Regions from separate parts of the Homo sapiens genome. Here region 2 is linked to region 1. Evidence: promoter capture Hi-C in human tissues and cell types (Jung and others, 2019). All regions are on one chromosome and are shown on one strand. Each heading gives the region's core, a stretch centred on a gene start or on the middle of the fragment in contact. The rest is flanking DNA. Distances are from core to core; before and after follow the strand shown.

The links. Contacts are between HindIII fragments. The study calls those that stand out against the background at their distance.
Region 2: a fragment that was not itself captured here is called in contact with the fragment with the promoter of FRRS1L in region 1 in 1 of the 25 tissues and cell types used here (IMR-90 fibroblasts).

Annotation. Positions count from the first base shown.
Region 1 is chr9:109,164,395-109,169,758 of GRCh38, reverse strand. FRRS1L (ferric chelate reductase 1 like) reads left to right here and starts at 2,510. Exons shown (of 5, transcript NM_014334.4): 1 at 2,510-2,858. The coding sequence starts at 2,621. The HindIII fragment of the contact is 7,141 bases long and covers 1,504-5,364 here.
Region 2 is chr9:109,304,240-109,309,603 of GRCh38, reverse strand. The region is part of intron 1 of EPB41L4B (erythrocyte membrane protein band 4.1 like 4B); the gene reads left to right. Among named protein-coding and RNA genes, the nearest start is that of EPB41L4B, 14 kb to the left of the region's middle. The HindIII fragment of the contact is 6,787 bases long and covers 1-5,364 here.

The DNA of each region.
Region 1 (5,364 bases), core at 1,261-3,760:
GTAAATTAAAAAAAAAGTTGAACATGGAAAAAATAATTCATAAAAAAAGCTATGGGTTTTCTCCCTAGAAAAACCCATACATCACAACATTATTCCAGCACTTTCATAAGGTCCTCATATCACCCCTGAAGCCTATCTGTGGCCCCCTGTGAGTCTACATGAGTAGAGAGAGAATTGAAATCCACAGTTTACCTGCAAACTTCATTTTAGGCTGTAGTTGTAAACCGTCCCCAAAATACCCAAATACCCCCATAAAAACAATATAGAAAGCCCACGTGGTGGTGGTTTTTTTTGTTTTGTTTTGTTTTTTTGTTTGTTTTTTGTTTGTTTTTTGAGATGGAGTCTTGCTCTGTCGCCCAGGCTAGAGTGCAGTGGCCTGATCTCGACTCACTGCAAGCTCCGCCTCCCAGGTTCACGCCATTCTCCTGCCTTAGCTTCCCGAGTAGCTGGGACTTCAGGCGCCCGACACCATGCCCGGCTAATTTTTTGTATTTTCAGTAGAGACGGGATTTCACCGTGTTGGCCAGGATGGTGTCGATCTTCTGACCTTGTGATCCGCCCGCCTCGGCCTCCCAAAGTGCTGGAGTTACAGGCGTGAGCCACCGTGCCCGGCTGCCCACGTGTTTTTATATCAGATTAATTTACTCGGAGAAGAATGGCCTGGTTTTCATTTGCCTTCTATTTGGGCACCGTTATTGTTAATTTCAGTAACCAAAATGAAGGGAATAAAAAGGAAAGTAAGAGGTAAAAGCTTGTATTCCCAAACCAGAGAATCTACACTGAAATCAAAAGTCTAATGCTTTATTTTTTTGGCTAAACTTTGGTCCATTCTAAGTTGACCATACCTTCCCTGGTGAACAGAAAGAGAAGAAAAGAAAATAAAGAAATTTTAATTTTTAAGAAAGGTTTAAGGTTTTTGTTTTTGTTTTTGTTTTTTTTTTTTTTTTTGAAGGACTACACTTTAACAGATTTTCAATCTGTTGGATCAGCTTTTTTAGAATGTTATGCATTGCCACGCTATGCTTTTTGGGAAGAAGTCTCTTGAGTTTTTAAAGTAATCATAGTTCATCTTACCTTTTTCAAATAATCTGATCTATTTTTTGTGACAACTGCTATGTTGGGGGACCTAGTGAAGCCCAAGGTTTTCATGAATTACACCTCAATTCAGCCATCAGGATTAATATGTTTAAATTCCAGTTGGACAGCCCACTGTTAGCTGATACCTAATAGAAAATACCTGACTTCTAAGTCCCCCATCATGTCTCCCCTGTTTCAACAGCACTACCCTTATCTCTCAGCCAATCAGGCCATAAAGGGTTAAGATCACTAGTTTCCTTTTGAATATTAACATTTCACAATATTGTGTACATGTGTGCATGCCACTTACAGCACTGAACCCTATTGATCCTTACCTCTATGATCTTCCCTAATCTTCATTGCATCATGTCAATGACTAATCATGAGAGATCAGGCAGTCTGACTTCTAGGTCTGCATTTGGGACCTCTATGCTTTTCTGCCTCCATAATTATTTTGTTTATGCAATAAAATAAAATAATAAAATAGGAAAAGCAGGTTAAAATGCTGGCTCTGCAACACCAGCCTGAAAGGAATTGCGTCCGCCTCTCTGATGGAAAACAGCTTAGCAATTCGAATATATCACCCCAACAACCATCATCAAAAGAGAACCCTGGGACCTGCCATAAAGCAAATGCTTGGTGTGAATCAATGGATGGCTGAGTAAATAGCCAAAAGTGAACTGCAAGCAGCAGGAATGGATTTGAGAAAAATCAACAATTCAGCATGGCCCTCAGATACGGTGTGGGCCTTCCAAGGCCTGCGCGTGCTTGCTGCAGGGAAAGAGAGTAAACCAGAAGCCTAGTTTTGAAGGGGAACAGGTTACCTACTGGCACCAGCCTCTGTTGATTACACACCGCAAGAGCCTGGAGAGGAAGCAGGTGAATCCAGTTTTCTCTGTCTCTAAACACCTCAGTTTACCTAGCTCTATTGTGGGGGTCTTGCAATTTCAAGTTCCTTCTGTGATGATCCAAGAAATAATAGGTCTAGCAAGTGCTTTATGTAAACCAAAAAGTGCCGGCACAAGGTTGAGGAGGCAGCACTGACCAGGTGTGTCCAGGGTAAACTCTCTAGAGGAGCGTTTCATAAATTGAACGTGCATTGGGATCTCCTGGGAATTTTGATGAAATGAACATCCCGCTTCATGGGTCTGGAGTGGGGCCTCAGCGATGCTAACAAGCTTCCAGGTGATGCTGATGCTGCCGGTCCGCGGACCACACTCCGGAGTAGCAAGGGGCCAGAAGGGCCAAATCTGCCTGCGTGGAGGGAAGTCGGGGAGATGGGGAGAATGGAAAGAAGGACGGTAGAAGGGAAGCTGCTAGGAAGGAGAGATCGGTGCGGGGAGGAGGGGGGTTCCAAGAAGAAGGGGGAGGCTGCGGTGCTGGAGCGAGGATGCGCAGACCGAGGCAGGGAGGCGGGGGTGCGGGAGGCTCCGCGGCTGCGCGGGCGCGTGCTGGTGGCCTCGGCGGAGGCTCAGTCCCGGCCCGCGCCCGCGGCGCCCCCGCTGCGGCCCGAGCGGCCTGGCTGCGGGATCTGTGCGCACGGATGGCGCGGCCGCCCCGGCAGCACCCGGGGGTCTGGGCGTCGCTGCTCCTGCTGCTACTGACGGGGCCCGCCGCCTGCGCAGCCAGCCCCGCGGACGACGGTGCGGGCCCGGGGGGCCGGGGACCCCGGGGACGCGCGCGGGGGGACACGGGCGCCGACGAGGCGGTGCCGCGCCACGACTCCTCCTACGGCACCTTCGCGGGGGAGTTCTACGACCTGCGCTACCTGTCGGAGGAGGGTGAGGCTGCGGGAGGGCGAGGGGTTGCGGGAGGGGAGACCGGGGGTGGGGGACCGAGGATCGGGGGAACGAGGAGAGGGGGCGAGGGAGGGGGAGGGGGTCGGAAAAGATGTCCGTGGAGGCAGCTCTTGCAGAGGCGAGGCCAGGATGGGGAGCGCAGTGCCCAGGCCTCCGCCGGCCTGGAGGAAAGGCCCAAAGAGCTGTCAATGCCTGCCGCCCGCTTTACAGATGGGGAGAGTGAGGCTGGGAGAGGGAGGGGTCATCCAAGTTCTGCAAGGCTGTGGATAGGGGTGGGTGCTGAGTCTAAGCTCCCCCAGTTCTTAGATCTGGCTTCCACCTTTGCCGCCTGGGGTTGGGTTATAGGGGAGGAGGCCGCCATCTGGCCAGGGCAGCTAGGGGGAAGCAGAAAAACCCCAACCTAAAGAGAGAGGTTGCCTTATTTCCTCCCTGTCTGTATTGACTTAAATTTGCAGTGACCAGCGCCCACCTCGTAGCATTCTGTTCCTGCTCACTGACCCGTCAGAGCTGGGTCACATCAGCCTCCCCACTCCCATCCCTCCTCTTTTATGACGCCACATATGTTATGGTCCCCTAGTGCGAGCCACCATTGTTGTGGCCTGCTGGGCCCGCAGACTGGGAGTTTGTCAGCCAAGGGCCTCCCTGTAGAGCTGCTTCAACGAGCACAAAAGCCAAGCGGATGGTGGTCAGAAGGAATGGAAACTGGCCTCTTTAAGCAACTTTGGGAAGTAGTGACTTTCCTTTTCTTCTGCTAAGAGGGATATCCAACCATCAAGCTGGGGTTTGAAGTGTTGAGTCCCAGGAGCTCATATCTGTTAGTGGATGTGTCTGTTGTTAGGATTAAGTTCAGCTGTATACAACAAGCAAACATTAATAGCTTCAACAAGATAGAAGTTTCTCTCTTACAGAAAGAAAACTAGAAATAGGTAATCCAGAACTGGTCTGGAGGCTCCTTGGTCACCAGTGTCTCTGGATCCTGCCCTTCTGTTTCTTCACAATTCTTAGCATGTAACTTCATGGTTCAAAATAACTGCTTGAGCTACAGCCATTATGTTCACATTCTAGACAGTGGGAAAAATGAAGCAGGAAGAAGGTCACTGACTACTTTATAAAGGGATTACTCGGAAGTTTCATATAACAATTTTTATACTTCTTTGGCCACAACTTAATCATATGGTTGCACATAGGTACAAAGGAGGATGTAAAATAGAGCCTATTAGCTGAGACATAATATGCCCAGTTCAAAAATCAGAATTATTGTATTAAAGAAGATGGAGAGAATGGATTTGGGGAAATGTATTAAGTAGAGGCTTAACTGCTGAATTAGAGATTTTAACATATAGTGGTTTAAATAAGCTAGTTTATTTTTCTCTCTGATAAGAGTCTGGTTGGTCTGGGGCTGGTGGGATGACTCTGTTCCGCAAGGTCATTCAGGGACCCGGGTTCTTTCCATCTTGTTGCTCTGCCATCCCCCTGAGGCTTTGTCCTCATCAGTACAGTAGAAGCCAGGTTGCATGTCCTTGTTCAAGATTGAGGGAAAGAAAAAGAGAAGTTCAGGGCAAGTAGTTACCTTTTAGGCTGGCTGCCCACATTACTGCTGTTCACATTCCTTTGGCAAAAACATAGTTACAATGACCTAGCTTCAAGGGAGACTAAGAAATGTAGTCTTCTAGCTGGAGAGCCATGTGGCGGAATCTGTCACTCTGGAAAAGAATAAATATTCCGAAGCCCGTCTGTTTCTGAAAGCATCTAATGTATCTTTACACTGTACACAGCCTAGTGCTGCCAGGTGACTTAAATGTGGTATGTGAGAACTTGTATTCTGATTGGGCTCATGCATCTAACAAATGAAGGATAAGCTCAGATTCTGTACGTCCTTTGAGTCTCTCTGCAGAGAGAATGATATGTTCATTGTATAGTCCAGAAAGTTTTATGAATGTGGACATCAGGTGGGCCACAGCCATCAAGGACAGCTTTTATAGAGTCAAGCCATGAAGTAGGAAAGACTTCAGTGACACAGAAGAGGGAAGGCATTTAGGTGAGGTGATCACATAGCAGGCAGCAGGGCTTTGTACCGATCCCTAGTGTGTCTGCTTCGCGCCCCCACCATTCTGCACATAAAACTGGTTTAACCCTCCTGAAGTCTGCCTCTAACCTGTTGGCATTGCACTCAAAAGTCTGTGATGGGGCCGGGCGTGGTGCTTCACGACTGTAATCCCAGCACTTTGGGAGGCTGAGGTGGGTGGATCAGGAGGTCAGGAGTTCGAGACTAGCCTGGCCAACATGGTGAAACCCCGTCTCTACTAAAAATACAAAATTAGCCGGGCGTGGTGGTGCACGCCTGTAATCCCAGCTACTCAGGAGGCTGAGGCAGGAGAATTGCTTGAACCCAGGAGGTGGGGAGGTTGCAGTGAGCTGAGATTGCATCATTGCACTCCATCCTGGACAACAGAGTGAGACTCGGTCTCAAAAAAAAAAAAAAAAAATC
Region 2 (5,364 bases), core at 2,078-4,577, 140 kb before region 1:
TTCATATGTTGTTAGCAATGTGTAGTTCTTCCTGGAATGTTTTGTTTTATGATTTTCACATGTGTTTTTAGGTGGAGTTGTATTTTTCTCACTGGCCTCTGGACTCCATGAGATTGTCTCCCGTATCCCGTTCCGCTTCTGAGGTCACCTCGGTGGAATAAGGGAGCGAACACTGTAAGCCCCAAGTTGACAAGCTTCCCTGGCAGGTCTTTCCTCACTAAGTAGGAATTAATGTTTTGATTTCACTTTTCACTGTGAATGAGCTGAAGTTGGTTGCTGCTGGTGGCTTTTTGTGAGAGCAACTACGGGATCTATAGTATTCACATCAGCTCTGCCCACTCTTTTTGAAGTTTTTATTATGGAATTTTCTAAGCATATTCCAGAGTAGCGAGAACTATATATGGACCCTAAGTAGTCATCTTCATTTCCGTACTTATCAGTTTGTGGCCACTCTCCTTTTATACCCCTCCCTACTGCCCTTTCCTGATTATTTTAAACAAATTCTAAACATGTAATTTTTTTTTTTTAAAAGACGGAATCTCGCTTCGTCACCTAGGCTGGAGTGCAGTGCGTGATCTTGGTTCCCTGCAACCTCTGGCTCCAGGATTCAAGTGATTCTCCTGCCTCAGCTTCCTGAATAGCTGGGATTACAGGCATGCGCCACCACGCGCTAATTTTTTGTATTTTTAGTAGAGACAGGGTTTCACCATGTTGGCCAGGCTGGTCTTGATATCCTGACTTCAAGCGATCCGCCTGCCTCAGCCTCCCAAAGTGCTGAGATTACAGGCATGAGTCTCCGTGCCTGGCCTAAACATTTAATTTCAAACATGTATTTCAGTAGGTATCTCTAAAAGATAAGGACCAGTTTTAAAAAAATAGAGTTGATTGTGATAGCACACACCTGTAATCCCAGCGACTTGGGAGGCTGAGATGGGAGGATCACTTGAGTCCAGGAATCCGAGGCCAGCCTGGGCAACATCACAAGACTTCATCAAGACTTCTAAAAATAATGAACAATTATTTTTTAGTGTCAGATATTCGGCCAATGTTCAAATTTTCTTCTGTGGTTTTCAGCAAGGTTCTTTCATTGCATTTGATAGATATTCTATCTAAGACTCTTAACCTAAAAACCTTCTCTTCACCTTTTTGAGCCATTTATCTGTTGGAGAAGTGAGGCCGTTTGTCCTATTACAGTTTGTTACTTTCCGAGTTTTGTTGATTGCATCCTCAACATTGGTCACCCCTGAGGTACAGTTAGTACCGGGAATGGTCTTATTTCAAGCATCTGATCAGAGCACACAGAGATCAGTAAGATCCTTATCCTCAAGAAGGCTGAGTGGAGATCAGCTGTTGAATGTCTTCCTCGAGTGTGGGTTCTTCCTCCCTCTAGCTCACTCCTGCTTGGGTCCCCTTCACATACTCGGGAGGCCCTCCATGAACCCATTCTGTCTCTCCTGGCTGGAGATGCCAGCAGACATTTTAGGGAATGCAGAATCAATGAGAAGGGAATTGGGCCGAGTGTGGGACAGCTTGAACCAGTGGGGTTCGCCTCTGAGGGAACCGTTGGAGAACACCTGGTCCAAAATCTCATTCTGGAGGCGGCGAAAGGCCTTTCCCATCTGCCTTGGAAGGCTGCTCACTCCAGTCTGCTGCTGCTCACCGTGGCAAATGAGCAGTAACAAGGGTGTAACAAGTGTAGCTTCCTGCACGTAGCCCCCCAGCGCTTATGAGCGACATCCAGCGAGCCTCTTTGCCCCTCTGAGACTCTGCCATCTCTTCTGAAAGCGACCAGGGTTCTCAACCCTGGCACATGAGAGCTGGGGCTTTCTCCAGCTCTCCTGCCCATGTGATGGATGTGGGCATCATCCAGGGAAGGCCGGTAGACTGTAAAAGCCTACCGGGGTTAGTTATTAACCTGCAGCGCACTCTTGACAGCCCATTCCATGGCATTTCACCGACTGGAGTCCTTTTATTGCTCTTGCCTGCTGGGGCCTGAGACCCAAGGCCCATATCACCTCTGCTCAGTCGGTTACAATCTGTATTGAGTGGCATCAGCACTGCTTTGATGGTAGCAAGAATGGCTGGTTAAAGTCCAGGGAGGGGCCCAAGCTGGCTTGGAACTGGCCCAGGTCATGCACACAGCCAGCAGTGACACATCCAATGGGACACTCCAGGATGAAACCTGAGAAAGGAGGTCTGGGATATGGGATATTGTAATGGGAGAGCAGGAAATTTAAGGTCGGAGGTATTTGTTTAGGATACCTCAGTATTCTAGAGCTATGGGATTTATTTTGCTTTGAAGTCCAGAGGTATTTAGCTTTATTCTAAAAGCGATGAAGTTCCTCTTAATTAAAGACGCTCCTGGAAAAAAAAAAAGGAAAAATTTAATGCTGTCTTTTAAAAGGGAAAGGATTGTATGTACTATAATAGAATTACTGTAACATGTCGTTTATTAACTCGCTTCAGGGAATGAGCTCTTCCACATAGGTAAGTTTTCCAGATAGTTACAGTTGCATCCATTTACTGACAAGAACTGTTTTATTTCAGCTATTTCATTTATTTCTTGAAGAAAAAAAAAAAAAAAAAAACAACTGCAGCACATCTAGTGTCTGTAAGGCCCTGTGGGAGGAATACAAAATGGTCAAATGTATGGGCGTTGCTCTAAAGGAGCTCATTTAGGGTGGGGTGTGGATGTTAACTGCATTACCTTGACTTTGCCTTGGTGGCCCCCAGTGGATTCTTGGGTCAGCTCTGTATAGTGTTCCAGCCTTCAAAGCATTGCTTTACTCTGCCTTTTCGAAGGCTGGCTGATTAATAAGTTAATACAACAGTGGTTTTTGATGTTTACTGCATGCTTAGAATCTTCTGGGGAGTTTTTCAAAGTCCAGCTTCTAAGCTATACCCCAGACTACTGCCACCAAGATTGATGGGCTTGGGAGGTGGGACCCCTTCACCAGAATGTTTTTTTGTTTGTTTGTTTGTTTGTTTGTTTGTTTTTTTGCTCGCTCTGTTGCCCAGGCTGGAGTGCAGTGGCACGATCTTGGCTCACTGCAACCTCCGCCTCCCAGGTTCAAGCTATCCTCCTGCCTCAGCTCCCCCGTAGCTGGGATTACAGGCGCCTACCACCATGCCTGGCTAATTTTTGTATTTTTAATAGAGACGGGGTTTTGCCATATTGGGCAGGCTGGTCTCAAACTCCTGACCTCAGGTGATCCATCCCCACCTCGGCCTCCCAAAGTGCTGGGGTTACAGGCGTGAGCCACCACGCCTGGCCCAGAATGTTTTAAAACTCCCCAGGTGATTCTGAGGTGCAGTCAGGTTTGAGAAACAATGTTTTACAGGGCTCCTTCCCTTCCTTTTGTGTGGTGTTGTAGGTTTAGATCAGGCTTTCACCTTTGATCATTTCATTTAATCCTTATAGCATTTACTCGAGAGAATTTTGGGTGTTCTAATTTTATAGAAAGCTCACCAGTAAGATTTTGGCCCCATATCCCACAGCTAGTAAATACAAAACTAGACTTAAAAGTCATTTCCAGGCTGTTCAAGTCCACTTCTCCAGTTTTTCTTCACGGCTGTCACTCTAGTGGCTCTCTGGCAGCTCCCCAGTGTCCCCTTCACTTCTCACCTGTGTATCTGTACCTGTGCCTTATTTTTTTAATTTAATTTAATTATATTTTTTTGAGACAGAGTCTCGCTCTGCCACCCAGGCTGGACTGCAGTGGCGCGATCTCGACTCACTGCAAGCTCTACCTCCCGCATTCAAGCGATTCTGCTGCCTCAGCCTCCCAAGTAGCTGGAATTATAGGCACTGGGTCACCATGCCCAGCTAATTTTTGTATTTTTAGTAAAGACGGGGTTTCACCATGTTGACCAGGCTGGTCTTGAACTCCCGACCTCAGGTGATCCGCCCACCGCAGCCTCCCAAAGTGCTAGGATTACAGGTGTGAACCACCACGCCTGGCCTTTTATTTTTATTTTGATTTTTTGAGACAGAGTCTCCCTCTTTCGCCCAGGATGGAGTGCAGTGGCGCAGTCTCCACTTACTGCAACCTCCTCCTCCTGGGTTCAAGTGATTCTCCTGCCTCAGCCTCCCGAGTAGTTGGGATTACAGGCACCCGCCACCACACCCAGCTAATTTTGTATTTTTAGTAGAGACCGGGTTTCACCATGTGAGCCAGGCTGGTCTTGAACTCCTGACCACAAGTGATCCACCCGCTTTGGCCTCCCAAAGTGCTGGGATTACAGGCCTGGGCCACCTCATCCGGCCTGTGCTGCCTTCGTATTGGCTGATTCTTATCCCTTAAGGGCCTAGCCATCTTTCAGGGCCTGTCTCAGATGATGCCACATTTATGAAGCTTATCCCATCATTCCCCCCATCCTCCCACCCCACCACCCCACCTTCCCGCGCTTCTTCCACTTCTCCCATATAGCATTCCCTCTCCTCCTAGGAGCTTGCAGGGCATTTTTTTGCCTTGGGTGGGACCTAGCACATGTTATAGTAATTATGTAGTAATTCAAGCAATAGATGGCATTATTGACCTTTTTAGTTTTTGCAAGTGATTTTTAAAATTGTGGTAAAATATACGTGACACAAAATCGACCATTAGTGACATTTAGTACGCTGACATTGTTGAGAAACCATCATTACTATCTGGCTCTGGAATATTGTCATCACCCCAAAAGGAAACCCTCTACCTGTTGAGCCGTCATTCCTCCCCTGTTCCTAACCCCGACAGCCGCTAATCTGTCTTCTGTCTCTCTGGATTTGCTGTCCCTGGGTATTTCATATAAATAGAATCATGCAATATGTGGCATTTTATGTCTGGCTTCTTTCACTCAGCATTATGTTTTCAAAGTGGATTGACCATTTACATTGTTCCAAGCCCTTTCCATGGCTTCACTCTGACCCCTCATCCCCCCATGGAGTAGGCAGTTCCTATTGGTATCCTCATTATATAGGAGATTGAGGCACACAGAGATCAGGCAACTAGGAGAGAACACACAGTGCCTAAGTACTCTTGGCCCCTGCACTGTCCTGCTGGTGTCTGCTGTTGACTTTGACCTTTAGAAGGGCAAAGATGAAACATCAAGGAAGAATTCATCTATGGTATAAGAACAACATATGATACGGCTCCAGGAGCAGAAATCATTAGAGGTGCCCCTCGGGACTGCAGAACAGAATTCCTGGGGTTGATTGTGCGCTTAAAGCTCTTGGTTTAATTGGAGTGAATCAGTATTGCTGTGAATTTCCCTCAAATGTTAGGGGTCAAGTATAGGATTGTATATCTAGTATTGGAAGCCAGCTGGCGTTCTAAGACCACTGAAATGTTGAGGAATGAGTCTTAAGGACTCAGAAAGGCAGAG